Linked DNA regions of Homo sapiens: all the other regions are linked to region 2. Evidence: promoter capture Hi-C in human tissues and cell types (Jung and others, 2019). All regions are on one chromosome and are shown on one strand. The core of a region is centred on a gene start or on the middle of the fragment in contact, and the rest is flanking DNA. Distances in the headings are between cores, read along the strand shown.

The links. Contacts are between HindIII fragments. The study calls those that stand out against the background at their distance.
Region 1: the fragment with the promoter of CARD10 here is called in contact with the fragment with the promoter of SOX10 in region 2 in 1 of the 25 tissues and cell types used here (lymphoblastoid cells).
Region 3: a contact is called between the fragment with the promoter of KCNJ4 here and the fragment with the promoter of SOX10 in region 2, in 3 of the 25 tissues and cell types used here (IMR-90 fibroblasts, lymphoblastoid cells and spleen).
Region 4: a contact is called between a fragment that was not itself captured here and the fragment with the promoter of SOX10 in region 2, in 2 of the 25 tissues and cell types used here (dorsolateral prefrontal cortex and spleen).
Region 5: a contact is called between a fragment that was not itself captured here and the fragment with the promoter of SOX10 in region 2, in 2 of the 25 tissues and cell types used here (dorsolateral prefrontal cortex and spleen).
Region 6: a contact is called between the fragment with the promoter of PDXP here and the fragment with the promoter of SOX10 in region 2, in 2 of the 25 tissues and cell types used here (hippocampus and psoas muscle).
Region 7: a fragment that was not itself captured here is called in contact with the fragment with the promoter of SOX10 in region 2 in 5 of the 25 tissues and cell types used here (dorsolateral prefrontal cortex, heart left ventricle, liver and 2 more).

The regions. Positions count from the first base shown.
Region 1 is chr22:37,518,137-37,521,833 of GRCh38, forward strand. CARD10 (caspase recruitment domain family member 10) reads right to left here and starts at 1,279. Exons shown (of 20, transcript NM_014550.4): 1 at 830-1,279. The coding sequence starts at 1,064. The HindIII fragment of the contact is 30,090 bases long and covers 1-3,697 here.
Region 2 is chr22:37,982,474-37,986,124 of GRCh38, forward strand. SOX10 (SRY-box transcription factor 10) reads right to left here and starts at 2,082. Exons shown (of 4, transcript NM_006941.4): 1 at 1,866-2,082; 2 at 884-1,395. The coding sequence starts at 1,311. It also overlaps a transcript of POLR2F not described here. RefSeq lists enhancers at 351-1,188, 3,143-3,651. The HindIII fragment of the contact is 28,697 bases long and covers 1-3,651 here.
Region 3 is chr22:38,453,526-38,457,248 of GRCh38, forward strand. KCNJ4 (potassium inwardly rectifying channel subfamily J member 4) reads right to left here and starts at 1,674. Exons shown (of 2, transcript NM_152868.3): 1 at 1,455-1,674. The HindIII fragment of the contact is 19,664 bases long and covers 1-3,723 here.
Region 4 is chr22:38,433,059-38,436,948 of GRCh38, forward strand. The region is part of intron 1 of KCNJ4 (potassium inwardly rectifying channel subfamily J member 4); the gene reads right to left. LOC105373029 (a long non-coding RNA gene) reads left to right here and starts at 1,286. Exons shown (of 3, transcript XR_938251.3): 1 at 1,286-1,365; 2 at 1,806-1,903; 3 at 3,245-3,327. RefSeq lists an enhancer at 366-867. The HindIII fragment of the contact is 4,472 bases long and covers 1-3,890 here.
Region 5 is chr22:38,343,440-38,347,056 of GRCh38, forward strand. All of the region lies in intron 4 of TPTEP2-CSNK1E (TPTEP2-CSNK1E readthrough), which reads right to left. It also overlaps the pseudogene TPTEP2. Among named protein-coding and RNA genes, the nearest start is that of CSNK1E, 28 kb to the left of the region's middle. RefSeq lists an enhancer at 1,069-1,568. The HindIII fragment of the contact is 5,046 bases long and covers 1-3,617 here.
Region 6 is chr22:37,656,466-37,660,375 of GRCh38, forward strand. It overlaps PDXP (pyridoxal phosphatase), which reads left to right and starts at 2,258. Exons shown (of 2, transcript NM_020315.5): 1 at 2,258-2,891. The coding sequence starts at 2,318. PDXP-DT (PDXP divergent transcript) reads right to left here and starts at 1,912. Exons shown (of 6, transcript NR_109952.1): 1 at 1,790-1,912. RefSeq lists enhancers at 1,815-1,884, 1,895-1,944, 2,133-2,634, 3,461-3,910 and silencers at 2,135-2,444, 2,645-2,754. The HindIII fragment of the contact is 18,911 bases long and covers 1-3,910 here.
Region 7 is chr22:38,389,577-38,393,307 of GRCh38, forward strand. The region is part of intron 1 of TPTEP2-CSNK1E (TPTEP2-CSNK1E readthrough); the gene reads right to left. It also overlaps the pseudogene TPTEP2. Among named protein-coding and RNA genes, the nearest start is that of TPTEP2-CSNK1E, 7.5 kb to the right of the region's middle. The HindIII fragment of the contact is 3,040 bases long and covers 159-3,198 here.

The DNA of each region.
Region 1 (3,697 bases), core at 29-2,528, 470 kb before region 2:
GGTCTAGGGGAAGGCCTCCCCAGGTGCCTGGTTGCTTCTGCCCCCACCATGCTCCAGGCCCACGTTCCCCAGATTTTTGAGCCAGTGACACACACAGGGGCCTGTCCCAACACATCAGGGAAGAGAAGAGAGCCATTCTGCCACAGCCAGGGGAGCACATTCCCTCATGACTCCTGGGCTCCCAGAGCTCCCCAACACCCCCCACAGACACAGATGCCGGCCCGCAAATGCAGCCTGCCTTTTCAATGGCACAGAGAAGCCCCCTCTATCCCCAGAAGCAAAGAAAATACTTCTCCCATTGGCCATGCCTGAAATTCCACCATTAAAGACCATTCCATCATGCCTTTTTGAGTTCTGGTTCAAAGGCACACCCTGTGGGAGTGGGGACCCACGTAAAGCTGAGACGGATCTTGACACTTGAAAAAGGACTCCCCCAGGAGTGTATGGTGCACAGAGGAGGGGACAGACAGAACTCGGAGATCAAAGAGCGCAGGAAAGGTGCCAAGTCCACCGGCTGTGACCGGGAGGTCCCAGGCCCAGCCGGCCCTGGCAGCCACATCCAACCTTCTGCTCTAATGTGGACCCAGGAAGTGGGAGAGAACCCCAAGAGACAAAACTCTGACCCCGGTGTGGGCAACGCGGACCGCCAAGGCGCAGTGGTGGGTGGGGAGGAGGCAGGCTGGTGGGCATACCCAGCCGGCCCACTCTACTGATGCGGAGACCGAGCCCCAGGGCAGCAGAGCCCTAGCTTCGCGCTACACGGCTGTGGGCGCTGCGCCCCAGGGCACGGCCGGCCCAGGTCGTGGCCCACTCGGGACCCGCGGCTCACCGGTGCGGTTGACGCGGCACGGGAAGCGGTAGGTGCTCAGCACCTCCTCCTCGTCCTGCTCGTCGATGACCCGGCACTGGCGCAGATACGGCGTGAGCTTGGCCGGGTTCAGGGCGCGAGCCAGCCGATGCCGGACGCCCTCGATTCGCTCCCACAGCGCGTCCTCCTCCGCCTCAGACCCCGAGCCGGCCCCGGCCTCCTCCTCGGCCTCCCCCGCCTCCGCCCGGCCCGGCATGGCCGTGTCCTCAGGGTCTGCGGGCAAGAGGCGCACGGGGGTCGACCAGGGCTCCCTAGGGCTAGATGTGCGGCCAAGCACCCCCGGGGCGTCGTCCGCAGACCCGCCGTCGGGGGCGCGCCCCGAGCTCCCCGCGACTCACCCCGCACGCTACAGTCGCCTCGGGCTCCCGGGTCCGCACTCGGGCGGCGGCTCCGCCGGCGCAGGGGGGCGGTGCCCGTGGCGCCCCCGGCTCCGCCCCCGTCCCCGCAGCCTCCTGGGCTGCCCGGGCCTCCCCACATTGCCGCCCGCCCCGGGTCGTGCGTCCGGCCCCCGGCCACCCCGCGCGTCCGTCTGCACGCCCTCCCTCCCGGCCGTCCGGCTGCGCCTCCCCCTGCTTCCTGTTTCCCGCCGGCTCTCCAGCCCGGCTCGGCGGGGTCCTGGCCGCCCGCCCACACCTGCCCGGCCTCTGGGCGGGGCGGGGGCGGGCAGGCGCGCTCACACCCCCCGCGCGCCGCGACACACCTTCCCCGGGCCACGCGCATCGCCTCCCCACGCCCACAGCGCGCCCGCCCGTGCGGGGCTAGCCGCTCACGCCCGGCGCAGCCCGCGGGCACTCAAGCTGGGCTTGCCCTTCTCGGGTCCCCACATGCACTGCGGGCGCGGGAGCTTCCCTGGAGCGCAGGACAGCCCCGCGGGGGACAGCAATGGGCAGAGGTCATGGGGGCTTTCTGCAAGATGGGGGTCTGAACCTGCAGGGCAGCACTGCCAACTCCCCTCTTACGCAAACTCCCGTGGCACTTGAGGACCAGGGACCCCACAATTCTCAAAGGGTATTCCTCCAGGTGTTGGTCCCAGAGATGCTGGGGGCGGGCTGTGACTAGCCATCCATACTCCCGCTCCTGCCTGGGAGGCCGGTGGTGTCTTACCATGATACTGGCCGAGTCTACACGGTATCTGCTGGTGCATGCGATACAGTCTCGCTATGCATTAGAAGCTGCCAGGTACCTGCTGCCAGGGAGGAACAGAGGAGGCACAACCGGTACAGGAAAGAGGTGTGAGCTCCCTAATCGCCTTCCACAACTTCTGAATTAGATGCCGTGGACATATGTATTACTTATCCAAAGAATTAAGGTTTCAATCAATAAAGGCTCTGAAAAGCCCTGCTTAAATTAAGGCCGGGGGCGGTGGCTCATGCCTGGAATCCCGACACTTTGGGAGACCGAGGCGAGTGGATCACCTGAGGTCAGGAGTTCGAGACCAGCCTGACCAATATGGCGAAACCCCATCTCTACTAAAAATATAAAAATTAGCTAGACGTGGTAGTGCGCGTCTGTAATCCCAGCTACTCGGGAGGCTGAGGCACGAGAATCGCTTGAACCCAGGAGGCGGAGGTTGCAGTGATATCGTGCCACTGCACTCCAGCAGCCCGGGCAACAGAATGAGACTCCCCCTCAAAAAAAAAAAAAAAAAAAAAAAAAGCCCCAGCAGTAAAGAAACAGATTTAACTTTATATATCCTGGTGTCCTTTTCCAAACTTAATTAACCACAGCCTTTTTTTGGTTTGCATTTGTTGTACATTTGTTTTTGTTTTGGGTGTCACCTGTTTACATGCAGAAGAAATGCTTTGGGAGAACTGAATTCTAGTGCAAATTCCTCAATTAACAAAGGAGGAAGCAGAGCTCAGAGAGGGCAAGGAACTTGCCCAAATTCACACAGCGAGGCCACAATGGGAATAGGCCGGAGCCCAGCCCCTGGCCTCTGTCCTCTCCAAGCCCCGAGTCCAGGCACACACCAGACCTCCCTTTCAATACGTCCTTCCCCTCTCTGTGGCCTTGGTTGCCCTCCCACGCAGAGCGGCAGCTCCTCCCACCAGCAGCCCTACTCCTCGTGAATATTTTTAACTTGGCCAGCAGAGCGGGATGGACGCCTTGGAAAATGAGGCTATGGTTAATTATTTTTTCATCGAGAAGCTAAGCAGGGCCTAAAGATAAGGCACAGAAGCCAAGAGGTCTCTGCAGATAAGTGGACAGAGAAGTGAGGGCACACTGGGTCTGAACAGGCAGGTAGCTGGGTACACCGAGTGCCCCTGGTGCCCAGCATTCCAGGGGAAGCGACAGAGTTCCTTTGGGTACCACACTCCCACATTCACATGTACAATTATACAGGCATGCACACGCACCATCACATACACATGCACACATACACACCCACCCACTGTGGGCATCAAGCCAGGCAGGAGGCAGACAGGGGCGTACCCACTTCCCCACAAACATCTGAGCCTCCTCATCTTTCCCCTGTCCCCGGGCGTCCATAGCACCGAGTGTGCAAGCGTGTGATTAGGTACCATGTTCATTATTGTCCTCTTGTGAGTTCTGCTACATTCATCTTCTCTCTATAGCTATGCCAGGAAGGCGGGCAGGGACTACAGCAGGGACACCGAGAATCTAGACTTTGTACCAGGGGCCCTGGGTTCTATCGCGGGCTCACCGCTATGAGTATTGTTCTTCTTTGAGTCTCCATTTCCCTGTCTGCAAAAGGCAGGCGGTGAGTAGTCCCAGCCACACCTACAAAGGCAGACAGTCCAGGAGTGGAGGGTGCCCTGGAGACCAACATTCAGCCTTAGCTGCATCTACTCGGACAAATTCCTCCCC
Region 2 (3,651 bases), core at 832-3,331:
ATTGCTCCCTGCGGGGGATGTTTTTCCTAGAGGTGTGGGCTGGTCCCAGGGAACCTGGGACTCTGAGGGCCCCTGGGCAGGAAGGAGGCCAAGGTTTCCTTCTGGCCAGAGTGCTCAGCTCCAGCTCTGGGGCAGTGGGGAAGAGGTTGCTCAACGTTGGGGTGGGGCCCTGGCAGGGAAGATGGCGCCGAACTGGGAGAGGGAGGAAAGAGATCAGCTTGGTGACTCTGGGGCAGGGCAGGAGGGGGAGCCCCTTACTGTGTGTCCTCTCCCTAGGAGGATGAAGAAGCCCCCAACTCAAAGGAGGGTGGCGTCAGAAAGTCCCAGGGAAGAGCCCTAGGATAGGATGAGGTCCCGCAGCAGCAGATTTGTCCCGCAGTTCTTCATCCCTCACTCTTCCAAAGACTCTCATCTGAATTCCGTTTTCTTTAAACCTCCCCTGAGTTCTCCATCTGACTGCCTCAGTTTCCCTGAATCTCCAGCCAACCCTTTGGTTCTTTCCAAGCGTTTCCCTCGTATCCTCCTGACCACAGCAGCTGGTGGCATAGTGTGCGTATCTGTGGGCAGGAGTTAGTGAAGGCCTCCTTCCCTCCCTCCAAAGCCCCAGGCCCCACGGTCTGCCACCCGCAAAATTCCAACCACGAGGGGGCGCCTTCCTGCCCGCCGCCCCGTAGGGAGACCCGGCCTAGGCCGCTGGAGTTCCGAGTTCCAGGGTCCTTGTGATGGAAGGGCGGGCGCGGCCCCCACACCTGGTCTTCCAGCCCTATCCAAGGAGGACTGCCAGACAGTCCCGCTCTGAGGTGCAGGAGGCCGGGCCGCCTCGGCTACCCTGAATCCACCCGAAGCTAGAGGGCCCGAGCCCGGGGGGCGGTCGGGTGCTCACCTCCAGAGCTTGCCCAGCGTCTTGCTGAGCTCAGCGTTGTGCAGGTGCGGGTACTGGTCCGCGAGCTTCCTGCGCGCTGCCTGAGCCCACACCATGAAGGCGTTCATGGGCCGCTTGACGTGCGGCTTGCTTTTGCTGGCGCCGTTGACGCGCACGGGCATGGGCACCAGCGTCCAGTCGTAGCCGCTGAGCACCTGGCTGACGGCCTCGCGGATGCACACGGGGAACTTGTCATCGTCCGCCTCGCCGTCCTGCTGCTCCTTCTTGACCTTGCCCAGCTCGCCTGGCCCCGGGCTGGCTCGCAGGCCCGATCCGCCGCCGCCGCCGTCGGGCCCTAGCGAGGGCGCGCTCCCCGGGGACAGGCAGCGGGGCTCCTCCGAGCCCACGGGGCTCAGCTCCACCTCCGATAGGTCCTGCTCCTCCGCCATGTCGCCCCCGGCCGCCGCCGCCGCCGCCTCGGCCGCCTCCCCCGGGCCAGCCGCCGGGGTCCTCGCAAAGAGTCCAACGCCCACCTGGATGGAAGGAGGGCGCGATGGAGCGGCCGCGCGCGCAGCCCCGAGGGCGGCCCGAGACAGGACGTGGGCACAGCCCCGAGGTGGCGGCCCTTCCTGCTCCAGCTAAACCCATCTGGCCCCTGGGGCCCACGCACATGCCAGACTCTAGGTGGGTGCGTCCCGCCTCTGTGTCTTCCCACCACCTGGTCCCAACCGTCTCTTGGTGTGGGTGGCTTTTTTTTTAGCCTCCTTTTTTGGGTGGAGGTTTGTTGATGATAAGGAAGAAAAAAACGGAGCCTTTATTTTGCTCTAATCCCGGCCCCTGGAATTTCCCACCTTTTCTCTCACCTTTCCTTCTTCCCTCAGCCTGCCCCAACGGGGTTTAGAGGAGAGCCAGGTGGGGGGCAAGGGCGGGGTGTCGCCTCTCTCCACCTCACAGCAGGGTCCCAGGCCTGGGCGGGCCAGGGAGGAGCAGGCTGCGCACTCACCTCCTCGGACCTCTCCTCCAGTCTGGGGCTCGTCCTTAGGAAGTGGAAAACCGTGTCCCAAGGTGTGCGGTCCAGCTCGGGGCTGGGAGGTGACGCTGGTGGGCTGGGAGGGAGGGGCGGGGGGCCCTGAGCCTCAGGCCACGGCCTCGTTAGGACGGAGCCTGAATCCTTACCACCAACCACCCTGGCCGGACAGCCCGAGACTGACTGAGCGACTGAGCCTGAGCCGCTGCGGAGGGCTGGGGAAGGAAGGAGGGGGAGAGGGGGGAGGGGAGAGGAGGGAGGGAAGGGCAGAAGGTGGAGCCTCCAGGCTTTCCTTCATCCCCAACACTCAGGGCTCCTCCACCCGGAGCCCAGGCCCCCCCACCCAGCTCCCTGCCCTACTGCCCAGGCCCATCTTGCTGAGGCTTATCTTGGGCTTAGTCTGGGAGGTGGAGGGGAGGTTAGGCCGAGGAAGGAAGAGATGTAGGCTGGAGGGTCAGAACCTGTTGGATGGAAGAAAATTGGGCCCAACCAGGACTCCTAACGTCTGCCTCAGGTGGCAGGATGGGCACTTGGCAGGGGACTAGGGAGAGACGTGAAGGCGGTGAGGGTCCTGGGGGCCCGTGAGGGTGGCTGGCCCTAGCTGCTTCGTCTGCGAAATCCTGTTGAGTGCCTAGTGTGTGCCAGGCACTGATGCCCAGCTCCTCACCCTGCCTCCTACCTTTTCCCAGGCAGCCCTTTCTGCCCCATCCTGCACAGTAAGAGAGACTTCTCAGGGATCCCTCTGAGAAGTGCAGAGCCCCAGCTTGACCCCTGGTCCCTTCTCTGCAGACACCCAGCACACGCGCGTTCTGGTCTGGTTCAAGGTGGAAACACAAGACTAAAGCTGCCAGGAGGCCAAGGTGGGACAGGTTGGGGGCCCTCTCTCAGTAGGTCTTAGAGGCATTTTGGGTTGCTACCTACTGGGACCCAGCTCCTTCCACACTGGGCTCACCCTGTCTTGGGAGAGGGTAGGGGAGTCCTAGTCCTGATTGTCACGAAGTCCTCTACTCCCCCACCCCAACAAGGGGTGGGGACTTGCCCTGCCTCTTCCCTCCTCTGCCCACCTCTCCCTCCCTCCCCTTTTCTTTCCTGCCCATCCTCCGTTGACACCTTTTTCTCTCTCTTTCCTTGGCCTCTCCTCCAAAGGTCGCAGTGCTGTTCTCTTAACTGAGGGCAGCCCCGCCGGGGTGTTGAGGCCGAGGTGGGGTGTATGTGGGTTATGTAATGGAGCTGGGGTCGCATTGGCAACCATGTGACGTTCTGAGCTCCTCAACAGCAGGGCAAAGCCCCAAGACCACCCCAAGGGGTCCTGTCTGGAGTGGGCTGCAAAGGGTCTGGGGAGGCAAGGCCTCATGCTTGGGAAAGTCCAAAGGGGTGTAGGGGGTGGGAAATGGGACACAATGAGGTAGTCACACGAGGCAGAGGCATGTTGGGGGTGGGGGGAGCAGACACTGGAACACACACACACACACACACACACACACACACACATGCTCACACACACAACCAGCCAGACAATCGGGCCAGTGTGTCTGGGGCCTCGGAGCCCAGTGAATTAGGAGTTTGATAAGGGTTTTCTCTTTCTCTCGCTTGCTGGCCTTGGACAATCTCCCCCCAGTTTTCCTCGACGCCACCCCCGGCGCTGCCAACCCTCCTCCCCCCGCCTCCCTTCTCTTCCCTGTGCCCAGACTCTTGTTCGGGGCCTTGAAACAGTGAGCTGTCTTTGTTCGAAATACAGGTGAACGGCAATCATGTGATTAAC
Region 3 (3,723 bases), core at 424-2,923, 470 kb after region 2:
TAGCTGTTCATCTCTCTTAAGGTAAAGTGAGTCTTTACTCCCATCTCCCCAGTGCTTTCCCCAGCCTGTGAACAGCCCACTGCTCATTGAGCCCAGGGCCCGCCTTGGAGGTCACTGGGGCAGGGAGTGACGTCCCCATGCCACAGATGTGGAAGATGACGGTTGGGAGGAGAGTGACCAGCCCAGGGGGCTGCTCTCCCAGCCACCTGAGCTAATTTCTGGGAGGCTGAATGGAGGACATATGAGACCCACTGCCCAGTGTGGAACACCCCAGAAAGAGTCCCTCCTCCCAGTGAGAATGGAGTGGAATGTTCTAGGCTCAGCCCTTCCAACTCCAGTTGGGATATGGGTCAGTTCAGTGGCCAACAGTCTCTGTTCCCACCATGCTGCACCCATCTCTTACCCCAGCTGCCCTGGTCCACCTTTTGCTCCCCTCAGCACAGGCCAAGCCAGGGCCACAGTGAGGCTCTTGGGCCCCTAAAGTCCTGCTAACTGCCCCCAAAAGGCCTGAAGCCATGGAGGTCATGGGACTGGATGTGGGGGAGAACACACACACACACGGCTCCAACCCTTCTCTGGGCCTCCCTCCCTGAGTTCCCCACTTCCCCCAAACCTGCTGCTGAACATTCTACTGCTCTTGAGGCCCTGCTCTGTCAGCTGGCCAGGCTGCCCTGCCTCTAGCCCGCCGCTCCACCCCACCCAGCTTGCCACCTCCCAACTCCCTGCATCCTGTCCATCCTGAAGCAGGGACACTGGGGGCAGAAATGTGGGTAGGGGGCAGGGAGGCTGACACTGGTGGGGGGACATTTGGCAGGTTGCAGGGGAAGTTCTCCCTGCGGGAGGCTCATTGAGACCTCTCTTGCCTTGGGGTGCTCCCTACACACGGAGGAAAAAGCAGCCTCTGCCTCCCTCCCCAGCCTGTGTCTATCACTGTGAACGTGCAGTGCCTCCTCTACCAATCCCTGCCCCTGCGCCCTGGGGTCGTGTGGCGCCAAGTAGGTGCTCAAAACATGAGAAGTGAGATTTCGTTCTTCAGATCACAGGGCCATTTGCAACGAGGATGCAGCTGGGGAGGCGGAAAGGCGGCATCCCCCACCTTGCCACAAGTCACCTGCCTTGAAGCTCCCCGGCATGACAACTGGGGTGGGTGGAGGCAGGGAAAGGTCATGGCTGGGGCAGGAGGTCAAGACCCCTTCCACCCACCTCTCTCCCCCTTTCCAGGCCACAACCCAGACCGCGACGCTCCCAGACGGACAGACGGACAGAGCCCGCCCGTGGAGCCCGCCCGCTCCCGGGGAGTCACGGGACCGCGCGCGCGGCGCCGGGCAGCCGGGACCCGGCTCCGGATCAGGTGCGGAGCGGGCGGGGCCGGAGCGGCGGGCCCGGGACACACAGACACGCACGCGGCGGGACAAACTGACGGACAGCGCCCGGGGTGGGCGAGCGCGGCTTACCGCTGGGCGGAGGGTCCGACGAGAGTCCGGGAGGCGGCGAGCGGGCGCTACATCCCAAGGCGCGATCCGGCGGGCGGCGTCCCGGGCGCGGAAAGGGGAGTCCCGGCGCCCCCTGCCCGCGAACTCGGCCGGCCGGCCCGCGCTCCCCTCCCCGGCTGCCGCTCGGTCTGCGCGTGGGTCTTGGGGTCTCCGCGCGTCCCGGCCGTCCCGCGCCGCTCCCCGCGGGCCGCCCAACTTTCAGCGCTGCCCCGCGCCGCGCCCTCGGCGCCGCCTCGGCGTCAGCATCGTCGGGCCCGGCCGGGCTCACAGCGCGGGGGTCCGGGGGCCCGGGGCGCCCCGCCGCCCGCGCCCCCCACCCCCGCTGCAGGCGCCCTCCCCGCCGCCGTCCCCCGCTGCGCCCAGCTCCCTCGCTGTCACCCGCTCCTGCTCGCGCGCTCTGCCCCCGGCCCTGCGCTCCACTCCCGGCCCCGCTGCGCTCGGCCCCGGCCCCGCGACCCCTCGGCCTCCCGGCCTGGGGTCGCCCTCCCCGCCCCCGCCGGCCGGGCTCTGTCGCCACCTCCCCGACCGCTCTCGCGTCTCTCTCCTGCCGCCGGGGTCTCCGCCGCGCTCGCGTCCCGGTCCCTCTCCCGGCCTCCCTGCCTCCTGCGGCCCCGCTCGCCCTCTGCCCGCGGGGTCTCCGTCTCCGTCGCGGTCGCCCGCCGGCCTCCCCCCGCCTCCCTCTGCCCGCGCTGCCTCTCTCCCCTGCGCGTCTCTGTCCGTCTCCCTCGCGGCCCCTGTCCTTCTCTGTCTCTCCCCCTCCCACTCTCCGTGCGGCCCCCTCTGTCTCGGACCCCGGCCCCCGCCTTGGCCGCGTCCCCGGCTCGCCCGGGAGCCCGAGCTCCCGCCGCCCGCGGCGCGCCGAGAACTCCCAACTCGCGGCACGCCGCCCCGCTTTGCGAGACTTTCGCCCCTCCTCACACGTGACCCGCGCCCCACTGCGGAGGCCGCGCGCCCCCCAGCCCGGGAGCCCCGGCTGCCCGCGGGACCCCGCCCTGCCCGCCCCTCGGCCTAACCCGGCCTCAAGCCCCCTCCCGCGGGGCCCGCGGCGCGGAGCAGGGGCTGGGGCGGGGGGCTGCTGGCCCCGCTCCTGCCCTGGATCCTGCCCGGGTTTTCCTCCTCGCCCCAGGAGCGCTCCTCCCAGAACCCGTTCCTGGATCCGCTCCCGGGTTTTGTGCCCCCCCCCCAAAAGGGGGCAGGTGGAGAGGGTTCCTCCGAGCCGGGAAGGGGGGTGGGTGGGAGCTGGTCCCTCTGGGGTCCCACGGAGTCCGCCCCTCTCCTTAGCGGTCCTCGTACTCTCCCAAAGTACCGCCGGTCAAGGACCCGAAGCACCTCACTCTGGGAGTCTGAGGGGGCCCTATTGGAGGGACCCTCGCGATCACTCAGTCACCACTGCCCCATTTTACAGATGGCGAGACTGGGTACCAGAGAGGGTCAGAAACTCGGCCAAGGTCACCCAGAGATGACAAAGCCAGGCCAAACCCTAGTCTCTTATTCTCTGTCGCTCTCCATTACCCCAAGCTGTCAGGCCTGGGCCCCACACTCTGGGGTGTCAGGGAACCCCCAGCACCCACAGCACCTGTCTAGCCAGCTACATCCTGACCATCCTGCCACGTCACTCTAGCCCTCCGAGGAGACAGGAGGGAAAGTGCTCCTCCTTCCAGGGTGGTAGGACGAGAGAACACCTGCAGTTAGACAGCCAGCAAAACTTCCCTGGGAGTCTGGCCATCACCGACTAGCCCCATTACAGAGAGGGAGAGACCGAGGCACCCCAAAGCCAGGTGGAGAACTGATGAAATCTGAAATCCCCTCTGGCTCTCCTGAGCCTCGAGGATGTCAGCATAAGAACAGCAACACACAAACCACCACAAGTGTTTCCCTTCCTCGTGGGCTCTCCCTACTCAAAAGGATTCAGTCCCAACTCCTCAGTGTGGTATAGTCAGGCCCCACCTTATCCGGCATCCCACATCCCATAAATCCACAGGTACACCCTGATTCCACAGATTCCAGAACACGCCACAGGCCTCCACACCTCTCTGCCTGCACGCACTGTTCCTCCTCACTAAGATATCCTTCCACCTTTTTTGCCCAGAGAATTCCTGCTGTTCCCCAAGCCCAGCCTCAGTGCCACTTCCTTGAGAAGGCCTCCTGATGACCCCAGCAGAAGTCATTTATCACCCACTCATTCATTCAACCAGCACTAGGCACCCACCACATACCAGCCCCTGGGCGG
Region 4 (3,890 bases), core at 712-3,211, 450 kb after region 2:
ATGCTGACTGCTTTTTAAATGTTAATGTCTTTTCTTGGCAAAATGAAGAAGTGACAATGCTACACCAGTTACCAGACTTTTCTTTTAATTTTTAAAAATTTATTATTGGCCGGGTGCGGTGGCTCACGCCTGTAATCCCAGCACTTTGGGAGGCCAAGGCGGGCGGATGACCTGAGGTCAGGAGTTTGAGACCAGCCTGACCAACATGGAGAAAACTGTTTCTACTAAAAATACAAAACTAGCCAGGTGTGGTGGTGTGTGCCTGTAACCCCAGCTACTCGGGAGGCTGAGGCAGGAGAATCACTTGAACCTGGGAGGCGGAGGTTGCAGTGAGCCGAGATCGTGTCATTGCACTCCAGCCTGGGCAACAAGAGTGAAACTCCGTCTCAAAAAATAAATAAATAAAAATAAACACAAAAATTGATTATTACTATTTTTTATAGAGATGGGGTCTTACTATGTTTCCTAGGCTGGTCTCAAACTCCTGGTCTCAAGCTATCCTCCTGCCTCGGTCTCCCAAAATGCTGGGATCACAGGCACGAGCCACTGCATCCGGCTTTCTCTTAATTTTACTGTGCTGTAAACATCCAAAATCTGCAAGTCTTTAGTCCAGACTTCATTAGCCAGCTGGGGAAACCGAGGCCAAGAACAGGGCATGGCACCGTGTCCGAGGTGGCACAGTAAGTCAACAGCTGTGGAAGGAAGCTCAGGCCTCACCACTGACACCAGCCATCCTGCCCCATCCTGAGGAATTAGGGAGGGGCTGGAGACTCTGCCTCCTGGGGGTCCAGAGGAGGCAGGAAGACCACCCCAACCCTGTCAACTTTTAGGTTTTCCCGACAATTTTAGGACACTAACTTATCTGTCCTTGCCCACAACTCCCTTTGCAAAAGAAAAGCTGATCAGCTTGCAGCAGCCTCGGCAGGTCCCAGCTACCTGGAAGGCTTCGAGGGCAAATCTCCTCCCCGAGATCCGTGCCACTGACCAGAGACACCATGGCCACTGCAGGGGCACCTCCGCCAGGCCCTGCCAGAGCCAGGCAGCAGCTCCAGCCCTGCCTGAAACTCTGCTCCTTTAGACAGGAGCAGGAAGCTCACGCCTAGAGAGCAGTGGCCAGTGCCAGCCTGCCAGGTTGTCATGCATCTCATGTCATCCCACCACCAGACTTCGAGGTGACTATTATTGGGTGAGACAACCAGGGAGGTGATGTGACTGGCCTGAGGTCACAGAGCTCAGCCTTGGGGATCCGAGGAACCAGTCATCCTCTCTCTCCAGCCCCTCTCAGGGAATTTCTGCCAACTCCATGCCAGGCGCTGCCTCCTCTCTCTCATTGAAGCATCACTGTATCCTTTGTGTATTTAACAAGTATGTATTAAGCACCTACCACAGTAACAAGAAGGGTTGTTATTTCTCCTCCCCAGCTGAAGAATTGCAGGCTACAGAGATGCCGGGGGGTTGAGGGGTGATGCTGAGCTTGAGCTGGAAATCTAACTTGAGTCTGACTAGCTCCAGGTCCTTGGCTCACCCTGGTCCCCAGCCTCTGGCTTCGGGACCCCTTCTCCTGCCACATCACCCTGCTCAACCTGGGACCCCCAGGCTCTCCCCATCCCTCCAGACCTACCCTGAGCCCCTGAGGCTCTCTGACCCTGCTACTCTGAGCCCTCAGGCCTCACTGTCTATCTGCAGCACATGGCCTCTGTTCAATATGAGAAAATGTGCTGGTTAAACCCATATGTTTTGGGTGGCAAGACCTGGCTCTCAGTCTCAGCTCTGTCACCTCCCAGCATATCCTCTTTGAACCTCAGTTTTCTCATCTGCAAACTGGAGATGACGATACTGGTACCTTCCTCACCAGGCCGCTGCTGAATGAACATGACAACCACCATGCGTTATTACATTGCAGGTAAAGTGCAAAAACTGATGTTGATAATGGTGATGACAAAGATGCAGAAGCTGATGACCAAGAATGCTGGACTGGGAGCTGGGGAACCCCTTCCACTCCTGACTCCACCACTAACATGCTCTGGTCAGAAGTTCCTTCCCTCTGTCTGCAAGATGGGGAGACCATCATGGCTCCCTGGCAGGAGAGGTGGGAAAATGTACAAAACGAGGCACCCAGACAGAGCTTGGAGTCAGGTGACAGATGGGGGGCGCTCCTGAGTCTCCTTAGCCCCAGCCATCCCTGAGCCCTCCTGGGCCTAGATGGGGAGGCTGACTCTCCAGCAAATGTCCTACCAGAGGGAGCCAGCACAGGGCAGTGGAGGTCAGGGGACGCAGCCCAGGGCATAGCTCAGCGCACCCAGGATGGGTTCTGAAGGGTAGAGGATTTTCCTGGAAGAAATAGACAGAATTTGCCGGGCACGGTGGCTCACACCTGTAATCTTAGCACTTTGGGAGGCCGAGGCAGGTGGATCACCTGATGTCAGGAGTTCGAGACCAGCCTGGCCAACATGGTGAAACCCTGTCTCTACTGAAAATACAAAAATTAGCCAGGCGTGGTGGCAAGTGCCTGTAATCCTAGCTACCTGGGAGGCCGAGGAAGGAGAATCGCTTGAACCCAGGAGGCAGGGGCTGCAGTGAGCCAAGATCGTGCCACTGCACTCCAGTCTGGGCAACAGAGCGAGACTCTGTCTCGGGAAAAAAAAAAAAAAAGAAATAGACAGAATTAACACCACTGTCCCATTTCCCAGCCCTTGTGGAGCACAGAGTCTGTCCCCACTCCAGCTGAGGCCCTCAGGTCTGGTTTGATTGGAGGGGCTTTCCACTCCAACAAGTGGAACTTTGCAGGGAGGAAGAGAACTCAAGACCCCAGGCCCACGGCTCTTTGAGCTGTACCCCTCAAAGAGTAAGGGGAGCCAAAGACAGACTGAGCCACAGGGGAAACTGTGGCAGGGTCCCCACCTGCCACTGCCCTCTGCAGGCCCTGCAGTCCCCTGTCCCTGGGAGGCCTGACTCCCTCCTCTTCATGAGTCTCAGGAACCCCCCGCCTGGTGCAGCAGCTTCAGCTCTGGAGCCTCTAAACAACTTTGTGCCCATGTGACCTTATGCGAGGAACTTAACCTCTCTAGTCCCTGCATGCCCCATCTTTAGGAGAAGCTAATAATAGAGCAGACTTCCTAGGACTGTAATGAGGACAAATGGGATCATGCACACCACGTGCCCAGCCCAGAGTAAGTGATCGATAAGGTGCATTTTACTCAAGGCTGAACATTGCTCCCTCTTGATTTCCTCCCCTCAATTTCAGATGCAGCATCCCAGAGCCTGCCTGGGCCCCATCCACAGGGCCCTGCCCAGTTTGTCTTCATTCACTGCACTAGGGAGCTGGTGGGCAAGAAGAGCAGCCTCGGTGCTGTTCCACACAGAGCTGGGCTGGAACCAAGCCGAGTCCCACTTGGCTCTAGCAGGTCACTGGATTCTCTGAGCCTCGGTATCTCCAATGGTGAAAGGAGCATCGCAGTGCCTACCTGCAGGGCCTGATGTGGATTGTCCCAAAAGCGCATGCCACATGGTGGGGGCTCAAGAAAGCTGTCCCCCTCCCCACCTTCTTCTGGACCACGAAATCCTGTGGTACACCTAGCCCCTCCCTCACCAGGCAGCCCTCTGACATCGCAAAAATTCAGGCTGAGCATCTGAGCATTGAGCACGCATTTACTCAGTACTTTACCCTGATCGATTCCTATCATTCTCACAATGATCTCAGAGGAAATTATCATTACCCCTGTTTTAGAAGAAAACCAAGGCACAGAGAGGTTCAGCAACTTGCCCAAGGTCACACAGTTTGTAAGTGGTAAAGCCAGGATGTGGGCCTGGGCAATGGGCATCAAAGCACGCTAACAAGGCATGCTACTGTCCTGCCTCGAAGAAATACTGTCACACGCTTGCTTCCACCT
Region 5 (3,617 bases), core at 70-2,569, 360 kb after region 2:
AGACTAGTCATAATCGATAGCAACTACACATTGTGCCCTTGCTCTGCGCCTGGGACTGTTCTAAGGGCTTTTCATGAGCTGACTCATTTAATCCTCTCAACAACCCTCTGTGGTTGGCCTTATATTATGTTCCTCCTTTTCAAATGAGGAAACTGAGGAGGCCCCAAAATGGTGGTGGTGCCACCTTTTTTTTTTTGAGACGGAGTCTTGCTCTGTCGCCCAGGCTGGAGTGCAGTGGCCCAATCTCAGCTCACTGCAAGCTCCGCCTCCCGGGTTCACGCCATTCTCCTGCCTCAGCCTCCCCAGTAGCTGGGACTACAGGCACCTGCCACCACGCCCGGCTAATTTTTTTATATTTTTAGTAGAGACGGAGTTTCACCATGTTAGCCAGGATGGTCTCGATCTCCTGACCTCATGATCTGCCCACCTCGGCCTCCCAAAGTGCTGAGATTACAGGCGTGAGCCACCGTGCCCGGCCGAGGTGCCACCTTTGATGCATCGGTTGCTAATTCACGTTGGGAGATCCTGGAGGACCGAGAAACCAGAAAACACGGTTCTTGCTCTGGTAAGTGTAGACATGGACAAGGTGATCAGAGCCATAAGAGAGAAGGGATGGGAGTCACGAAGTCTTCCCAGAGGAGCTTCACTGCAGCTGGGCCTTCAAGTATGTGTAGGAGTTTGCCAAGGCAGTAAAGGCAGAGGCCCACCAACTGAGTCAGGCCTGGGGTGCGATTTGGGCCGGGGCAACGACTCCATTCCTCATCACAGACAACCTTCCATGAATCTCTGCCCTTGGGCAGGAGGAAGAGGGAGAGGGTGTGGCTTGGCCCATTGCATACTTGGAGTCTGTAGACAGCATTACAAGATGAGGATTGCTGAGAGCTCTGGACTAGGAGTCTGAAGATGAACCTTCTTCTTCTTCTTTTCTTTTCTTTTTTTTTCTTTTGAGACAGAGTTTCACTCTTGTTGCCCAGGCTGGAGCGCAATGGTGAGATCTCGACTCGCCGCAACGTCTGCCTCCCGGGTTCAAGCGATTCTCCTGCCTCAGCCTCCCAAGTAGCTGGGATTACAGGCATGCACCACCACGCCCGGCTAATTTTGTATTTTTAGTAGAGATGGAGTTTCTCCATGTTGGTCAGGCTGGTCTCGAACTCCCAACATCAGATGATCTGCCCGCCTCGGCCTCCCAAAGTGCTTGGATTACAGGTGTGAGCCACTGCGTCCAGCCCTAAGCTGAACCTTCTGTGGGCTGCAGAAGACGCCTGGGTGCTGTACTCAGGTGCAGTCCCTCCCCTCAAAGGCCTAAGATAAACGGATAGAGATGGAACTGAGGGTGAGTCGTTCCCAGCCCAGAATGGTGAGAGGTCACCCAGCTCTGGTCCTAGCTCCAGCTTCAAGATTCAGACCACAGAGATTCACCCGGACCATTGACTTGAAAAGAGCCCCAGCAAACTTAGATTCAAAGTGCCCCTTGAAATATATGTGTATTTGCTTCTATGTACATACAGCATCTCTGGATGGGCCCAGAAGAAAAATATTTGCGAGTCATGCTTTTTTTTTTTTTTTTTTTTTTGAGACAGAGTATCGCTCTTTTGCCCAGGCCAGAATGCAGTGGCGCAATCTCGGCTCACTGCAAGCTCCACCTCCCGGGTTCACGCCATTCTCCTGCCTCAGCCTCCCGAGTAGCTGGGACTATAGGCGCCCTCCACCACACCCGGCTAATTTTTTGTATTTTTAGTAGAGACAGGGTTTCACCATGTTAACCAGGATGGTCTTGGTCTCCTGACCTCGTGATCCGCCCGCCAAGGCCTCCCAAAGTGCTGGGATTACAGGCGTAAGCCACCGCACCCAGCCCATGCTTTCTTTAGTATATAAAAAGCAGTTACAAATCAATAAGAAAAATACTAATAATATAATATAAAAATGACTAAGAATAGTAAGAGACTGTTCCTAGGAAAGAAAATACAAAGGTTGGGGACAGGGTGGAAGGGAAACTGAGAGGGAAGGAGACTGTACTGTACCCTCTTTGGTAACTTCTTTTTTTTTTTTGAGACAGGGTCTCACTCTGTTGCCCAGGCTGGAGTGCAGTGGTGTGATCTTGGCTCACTACAACCTCCGCCTCCCAGGTTCAAGCGATTCTCCTGCCTCAGCCTCCCAAGTAGCTGGGATTACAGGTGTGCACCACCACGCCCGGCTGATTTTTTGTATTTTAGTAGAGATGGGGTTTCACCATGTTGGCCAGGCTGGTCTCGAACTCCTAACCTCAGGCGATTTGCCTGCCTCAGCCTCAAAGTGCTGGGACTGCAGGGGTGAGCCACCGTGCCCGCCCAACTTTTGAATTTTGATGTCTGTGAAAATATTTTCCATTCCATAAATCGAATTAAATTAAATGACCAATTTCCCCATTTTACAGAGAAGGAAACTGGGTCAACAGAATCTGCAGGCTCCTCTCCCACAAGGCCCAGGGTGATGGCAGAATGGTGAGGGAAGGGGACCTGCCACCAGGCATCCTTGGGAGGGCGCTCCCCTTGGCTTCCTGATTGAATGCTCAGCTGCCTCTCCAGTTTGCAGATGTGGAAATGGAGGCAAAGAGTGCGAGAAGGACACCCCAGGCTCACTGGCTGGGGTACAGTGGGGACCTAACACCCTCCTTGAGCCCTGTCACCACACAATGCCACCCCCAGCTAGGCATGACCAATTTCTCATTTTACTGGCGCCGGCCTTCTTCAGCGTCAACTTTCTGGTCGTTTGACCAAAGTGGACCATTGTTTCCCCAAATTACACTTTAATAAAAAAAAAAGAAGAAAAGCTAAGCCGATTGAATGATGGTCACGGGACTGGACAATTTCAAAGCAGAGTTATTGGGGACTTGACTCAGCTGGCCATGCCATTCATTAGATTACTTGGAGAGTTGACTTTAAATTTAGTAGGCATTGAATTCACTGGCTTTCTGAATAGGCCTGGATTTGGAAAGAAATTCAATTAACTGGTTCTTTGACTAAATTAACAGGGTTCTTTTTCTGATTGAATTATGGCAGTTTCTTGGAAGACTTCACTTGCCTCTTCCCCGAAGCTTCCGTGGACCTTACCAGGGAGTCCTGAGGGCCGTGGGCGAGTCCCGCAGCTCCAGCGGCTGATTCTGAAGGCTGCTTCCTTCCGAGTTGGGCCCTGGGCCACTTCTCCTAGGAGCCCCTTCCTCTGGGTCCACACTGGGTGCTAGCGAGGTGTTTCTAGGACTGTTTCCCCAGCAGGCTCTCAGCTCTTTCGGGACAGGGACTGTGGGGCTCACCTGGGTCCGGGCGCTGGACAGAGGTCTTAGCTCAAAGCAGGGGCTGGGGCAGGATGGGAGTGAATTCAGTGGAACCGACCCCAGGCCTTCTGATTCCAAGGCTGAGGGACTCACGCTTCTGCCCCACTGGGACATCGAGCTTAGTTCTTCTCTCAGACAAGGCAGGTGCTTCCCAATTGACTCCAGTCATCCACCACCCCACCCCATTCCGGCCAGCAATGAGCACCCACAAGGCCAGATCTCCAAAGTGCACCAGGCTTTACAGTTTACAAAGAGCTCCCACCTTCTCTCTGTAATCCTCAGAACGGTCCATGAAGGCAAGGGGGTC
Region 6 (3,910 bases), core at 1,008-3,507, 330 kb before region 2:
TGAAAACCAAAGCACCACCCTTGGCCCACAGAAGCCCCTACCGCTCCCACTGTTTCCTGGACCCCTCACTCTCCTTCCGGGAGGAGGCTGGGAAGCCTCCCCAAGGAGCAGGGATGGATCTGTCCTCAAACCTTCCCTAAATCTGCTCTGTGCCAGGCCCTGAGCTAGCTCCAAGACTTAACCCTACACCCAAAGAGTTCCCAAACAGACAGGCAGAAGCAACCATTAGAATCAAGTGTCTGGCCAGGCACGGTGTCTCATGCCTATAATCCCAGCACTGGGAGCCTGAGGCAGGAGGATCACTTGAGCCCAGGAGTTCTAGACCAGCCTGGACAACATAGTGAGACCCTGTCTCTACAAAAAAAAAAATTTTAATTAACTGGGTGTAGTGGCGTGTGCCTGTAGTCTCAGCAACTAGGAAGGCTGAGGCAGGAGGATCGCTTGAGCCCAGGAGTTGGAGGCTTCAGTGAGCAGTGATCATGCCACTGCACTCCAGCCTGGGTGACGGTGTAAGACCCTGTCTCAAAAACAAAAAAAATCAAGTGTCATTGCACTGGGAGCCCATATTAGCCAAGTTAGGGGTGGCCATATAACCTAGACTCATGGTATGGGGTGGGTGGTTAAGAACGGCTTCCTGGAGAAGGTGATATTTAAGGGAAGTCTTTCAGGAGCTGACCTGAAGGTGAATTTTGTTTATTTTTATTTATTTTATTTATTTTTTATTTTTTGTTTATTTTTTTTTGAGATGGAGTCTCGCTCTGTTGCCCAGGCTGGAGTGCATTGGCACGATCTCAGGTCGCTGCAAGCTCCGCCTCCTGGGTTCAAGCAATTCTCCTGCCTCAGCCTCCCGAGTAGCTGGGACTACAGGCACCCGCCACCACGCCTAGCTAATTTTTTTCTTTTTTTTTTTTTTTTTTTTTGTATTTTTAGTAGAGACGGGGTTTCACCGTAGCCAGGATGGTCTCGATCTCCTGACCTCGTGATCCGCCCACCTCAGCCTCCCAAAGTGCTGGGATTACAGGCGTGAGCCACCGAGCCCGGCCCTGAAGGTGAAATTTTTAAAGGAAAAAGGAACATTCAGGCCAAGGAGACTATCTATGCAAAGGCCAGGAGCAAAAGGCTTAGGGCACTTGGGGAATAGGAGCTAGTTGAGCTTCCAAGGTTGGGTACAAGGTACAGTTTTTCCCAAGTCGTTGGAGCTCCAGTTGCTCCTGGGGGTCACAGCCTTATCTGAAGTTGGCAGACAACTTCAAAACTGTGACACCACAGCTCACAATTCATTCATCCCCACACTGCAGACCAGTGGCTCCTCAAAGGTCCCAAGACCTGTGGTTGCTTCCAGATCACAAGGCCTCCTCCCTAAGACAGGGACCCAGCCAACCTGGGTCACCCCATTACTATTCTGGGCAATTGGCCACGACCATTCTGGATCCTGCCCTCCCGGGGCGTGCTGCAGTGACAGCCTACCAGCCTCTAGCCCAGTGCTTCCCTACCCTATCCTAGCTCACGGTAGAATCCCTGGAATTAAACCAACTAACCAACAAACCAAAAAATGCCCAGTCTTCACCCAAAACACTTACATGAGGATCTGTCCTGCTACACATCGGTGATTTCAAAAGCATTTGTCAAGACATTGAACTGTACATTTAAGATCTATGCATTTTACTATATGTAAATGATATCTGAAAATAAGTTCCCAGGGGACTCTAACGCAGTGTGAAGAACTACTGGTCTAGACCGAGGGCTCCAGCACCCAAGAAGACACCATGTGCCTCGTACCCCATCGTACACACACGTTTCTTGGGACTTCGCTCTGAACTGGAGCGTCCACGATTCAGGGGGCAATGAGATTCGACCCAAAGGCAGTTCATTTAACATCTGTTTTTCTCCCAGCAACCAGCTCGCCTAAGCTTCTGATTGGCTGGAGGGCACGGGGCCTTTCGCTTCGCGTTTTGTTTGTAGATTCTTATTGGTTAAGAAGAGCGTCAGTCTCCCACCGCGTAAGAGTGTAGTCGGCGTTGAAACTCGGCGGCGACTGGTCCAGCAGAACCAGGGACGGGGAGAAGGATCAAGCTAGCTCTTCATTGGTCCCTTCCCCTCGGTGTTGGCCACGAATCCGCCCCTCTCTCCAAGTTCCGTTAGCTCGCGGCTTCGCTCCTCTCCCAGACTCTCGCCCCCATTGGCTGCAGGCCACGCCGTCGCCCCGCCCCCCGGTCCTTCCAGCGCGCCAATTGGCGGCTGCGTGGAACGTGCCAGGGAGAGCGCGCCGTGCCCGCGGAGAGAGCGCGGCGCGGGAGGCCGGCGGCCGGCCGGCTGCATGGCGCGCTGCGAGAGGCTGCGCGGAGCGGCCCTGCGCGACGTGCTGGGCCGGGCGCAGGGGGTCCTGTTCGACTGTGACGGGGTGCTGTGGAACGGCGAGCGCGCCGTGCCGGGCGCCCCGGAGCTGCTGGAGCGGCTGGCGCGGGCCGGCAAGGCGGCTCTGTTTGTGAGCAACAACAGCCGGCGCGCGCGGCCCGAGCTGGCCCTGCGCTTCGCGCGCCTCGGCTTCGGGGGGCTGCGCGCCGAGCAGCTCTTCAGCTCCGCGCTGTGCGCCGCGCGCCTGCTGCGCCAGCGCCTGCCCGGGCCTCCGGACGCGCCGGGCGCCGTGTTCGTGCTGGGCGGCGAGGGGCTGCGCGCCGAGCTGCGCGCCGCGGGGCTGCGCCTGGCCGGGGACCCGAGCGCGGGGGACGGCGCGGCCCCGCGCGTGCGCGCCGTGCTTGTGGGCTACGACGAGCACTTCTCCTTCGCCAAGCTGAGGGAGGCGTGCGCGCACCTGCGCGACCCCGAGTGCCTACTCGTGGCCACCGACCGTGACCCATGGCACCCGCTGAGCGACGGCAGCCGGACCCCTGGTGAGCGCGGGAATGGCGGGGAAACTGAGATGGGGGCGACCTGCGCATTCGCCTCCACGCCTAAGGGTGAGGGGCGGGGAAGAGGCGTCTCCAGGTGGCAGGTGGGGAACAGGAGAGTGCGAGGGAGGCCCAGGGTGCTTTGGTGTGGGGGGCGGTTGATCCCTGTAGCCGTCATCCTGTGAGGCGCAGCAGTGTGGTCCCTGTTGGACAGATGAGGAAACTGAGGCCCTTTGTAACTTAGGGAGTTGGGCGGAATTCTGCCCTACCCACCATCGGGGTGGGGTTGGAGAGGAAGCCTGGGAGGATTGTCCCCCTGTGTGAGGGTTGAAACACCATTCCCAGAGGCAGGGTGTAGGCAGGTGTGTGGGGAGCAAAGGCGGTGGAGTTTGACCTCAGTTCCAGGTCCAGCTCCAGCTTCACAGCTGTGTAATCGTGTTCAGTTACATAACCTCCAAGCATCTCTGCCTGGGTGAGAAATGGCAGTGCTCAGCATGCCCGGTGACGGTGATCAGGGTGAGTGCCTGGCACATAGTAGGTGTTCAGATGATGTAAGTTGTAGCCAGAGTCCCCCATGTTACAGAGAACTTAATGAAACAGCTTTGTGTGTGTTCTTCTTTGGTTTCCAAATTACTCTGGAGATGGAAGTTATTGTCCCATTTCTCAAGTAAAGAGACTGAGGCAGCCGGATGCAGTGGCAACAGCCTGTAGTCCCAGCTACTCGAGAGGCTGAGGCGGGAGGATTGCTTGAGCCTAGGAGGTCAAGGCTGTAGCGTGCTATCATTGCATCTGTGAAAAGCCACTGTACTTCAGCATGGGCAACATAGTGAGACCTTATCTCTAAAAGAAGAGGAAAGAAACTGAGACTAAGAGAAGGGAAGTGAGCTGCCCAAGAACAGATATAGTGAGCCCCTCCACCTCCTGTGTCCCCACACACCTGCCTCCATCCTGCCTCTGGGAATTGGTGTTTCAGCCCTCACAAGTAGGGACAGTCCTCGCAGGCTTCCCCTCCAACCCTCCAA
Region 7 (3,731 bases), core at 429-2,928, 410 kb after region 2:
TCTCTACTGACATCCTTTCCAAAAAGAGACACCAGCTCTACAGTCTCGGGATTAGAAATATGATGTGAGGCCGGGCATAGTGGCTCACACCTGTACTCCCAATGCTTTGGGAAGCCGAAGTGGGTGGATCACTTGAGGTCAGGAGTTGGAGACCAGCCTGACCAACATGGTGAAACCCCTTATCTGCTAAAAATACAAAAATTAGCTGGGCATGGTAATACACACCTGTAATCCCAGCTACTTGGGAATCACTTGAACCCAGGAGGTGGAGGTTGCAGTGAGCCAAGATCGCGCCACTGCATTCCAGCCTGGGCAACAGAGCGAGACTTTGACTCCCCCCTCTTGCCCAAAAAAAAAGAAATATGATGGAGTGTTATTTCCCACTCAGGGAAACAGCATAACTTAGTTACTGAAAATATTTATTAACAGACAGATGTTTTGGTTCCAATTCTCAATTATCTGGGTTAAAGAAGTTACCATCAGTCTCCACACAAGACCTTGTAGGATTATTTCTCTGCAGTGAAGGACAATGAAGGAGGTTCAGTGGGAAACGATCTTAGGACAGAGGAAGTTTCCACTTTGCCTGGGAGGGTGAACAGCCTGGGAGACCTGGAGATGAGGGCAGGCATTCTAGGCCAAGGGGTCTTCTTGTGTGGTCAGATGGGGAAGGAAACCCTCCTGGCAAAACAGCAGCAATTCTTTCTCCAGGAAAGCTTCTGAGACTGACTCTAATAGTCAATTGTGATCAACTGTCCTAGGCTCCCAGGGCCACAGCAATCCTTAGGCACCCCAAATGTGCCATCCCTGACTACCCAGCACACCCTAACCCCAAAGCATTGTGACAGCTCAAGGATGACTTCCTCTGAAAACCTCTGTCCAGATCTAAAACCATCCTGTTTGTTTGCTTGTAACTGTCTTTTTCTAAAAGTAACACCTCAGGATGGAGACTCTGTTGCCTTGTCCACTGCTGCCCCCAATGCCTGGAACAAGGTGCCTGACACAGGAGTAGGCACGCGACACATAGCTGGTGAATAAACGTCACGGAATTAGCACACGTGTAGAATCAGTACGCACATGTTTGGCCACAGTCACTAAACGTAACTGATCAGAAATTAAAATTAAGTTGCATGTTCATCAAAACTTCTACATGGCTATCAGTGACTGCCATCTAATTGCCATTCTGCAACTTCAAGAGTACAATTTCAAGAGCGTAATAAAAAAATCATATTTAATCACACCATAAAGTTCATCAGCACAAGCAAAACAAAAACTGCACTATTTGGATTTATACTCACTCTCCTTACGACCCTCCAAAACAAAAATGCTGGGCATCCTAGGGCTATCTCTGACAGCAAATGCCTTCAGCTCTTGACTTAGAAACTGCTAACATACTAGACAAAACACTTTCCTTAAACTCTAAGACAATGAATAATACTTTAAACCAGGTTTACATCGCTTAAAACCAATTCGCTCATCAGTAATCGTTAAAGTGGTTGTAACAATAAAGATGTTAATAACAGAATACAGCAAAATAGAAATTCTAATCTACTAACAGCAAATCACCATTCCAATTGAATGGTGTGTGTGCACAAACACAAGCCTTCCCAGAAGCCTCCAGCTCTCCACACTCCTGCACACAGAAGGCAGCAGTAAACCGATGGCACTGCTGTTAAAGTAAATTGTCTTTCTCAACAAAGAACTGGAGGGGAAAAGGAGGATATTATAATCCAAGACTATAATCTAAATGCTTCTAGCTTGCAAGAAAGTGAGCATTACGAACACGCTAAGCTTACTGACAAGTACTTCACAAAAATGGTTTCCAATGTTTAAAAACATTTTAAAATCTTTACTCAGGTAAACGACAGAACTTAACTCATATACCCCCTAACACCTAAGGCAAGTGGGCTATTGAGTATAGCCATATTTTGAAAGAAACTTCTATTGGGATTATTTCAGTAGATACTTTTAAAATTTACCAGAGCATAATCTTTGAAACCCAGTGGGAACCACACTGCTACAAAAGGCTGGAATAGAAGTGTGATGTTCTTTAGGTCACTAATTACACACTGATTTGTGACTAAAGCTACCATGAATTCTACCACTACCTATAGATCTTGAAATTAGCAAATAGGACACATTATACACTGCTTAATAAAAAGCACAGTAATCTGTGCTTAAGTACAACTAACTAGGTACAACAGCCACTTTGCTGACAATTACTGTAACTTGGGAATATTTTTCTTTACATCCTGATGTACTCAAACTGTTAACTTTTAGAAACAGCACAGCCTCTTTGTTTCTTCTGCTTAATAGGTTATCTTACACTGTTGATATGGAATATGTATCTACCATAATACAAAGCAATAAGGTATTCAAGTCCTCAAAAACACAGAAAAATTATATTTATACACAATTTGTCATACTGCTAACAAAGCTACTTTTTCCCAAGTTACTGAGGTGTCCAAATAAGGAGTTATTAAAAAATTCAACTTAAATTGCTATTCTCTGGCCAATGCATTTGTACCCTGAAAACTACAAAATTATCTCCAAGACCTGGCTAGAAGTTTACATTTTCTCTGAAAGTTTTTCCTCTGTCTTTTACACACAGTATTTTTTCTTAATCTGACAAGTGGAGAAAACTCTGCATAGCCATCTACTAACAATCAAAAAGCTACAGGTTTTTTTATTTTTTATTTTTAATGCTCTAAATTCTTCAACACTGTTTCAAGGAAATTACTAGGGGTCACACCCACGAGGCTAAATGGTCAACCCAACTTTCCTAATTTAGCTGTGGAAAGATGCTTCCAAGTTAAGCGAAAGAAAAAGATTGGAATATTCAAAGTTTATATTTAAGGTTACAACCTAAACTCTTCAACTTGGGAAGCTTGTAAAGGAAATAATTTCATTTTGCTGAAATTGTTCATAAATTACCAATTTTAAATAGGATTAGAGACCAAAGTACTATAAAAATATAATCATATAGCATATTTGAGTGTCATTAACTAGAAACTGCCTGAATTCATCCTAAATCAGTTAAGGTCAGTTAAGGGATCTTAGTAAGAACTTAAAGTATAACATACTAGTTTTAGTTTCAATATTAACAGATACTGTCATCTGCAAAGTGGTTTTTAAAAACATCCTGATCTGAAAAAAAGTTATAAGGAAAGTGAATTTTTAAAAACTTTAATTAAGCAAGACTAAGCATTGCTATCCATTTCTCCTATTACTACTACTTAACCAGTACAACCTTAAATATCTGTAAAAATTTGACAGGCCTAACTGCACCAAAAAAAAAAGATTTCAGCAAATTAATTAACTGTTAATAAACTGTTCTATCTTTACCTGCACTAACTCTCTGCAATGAAAACACTGAACGTGTGTATACACACATCTATCTATATATATATACACACACAAATAACTATACCCACTACTAGACCAGTACACCATACCACTTTTTCCAATGAGCGCTCTGAATTAAACACAATTCAAGTAACCTAGCTAAATACAAGCTTAGGCAATGCCTTTTAAGGCATAAGATCATTCTTCTGCAAGATTTAAATATTCCCCTCCCCATCCTATCTTTTGCTGACTACATACTAAAGTTGTATATCTGGCTCTTTCCAGTCACCTGTTTGCTTTCAAAATCAAGGGGGAAAGTCTCCTTTCAATTAATAATACAATCATTGTTCAGTCGATTTATAAACTGAAGAAAAACTCTATATTGATTA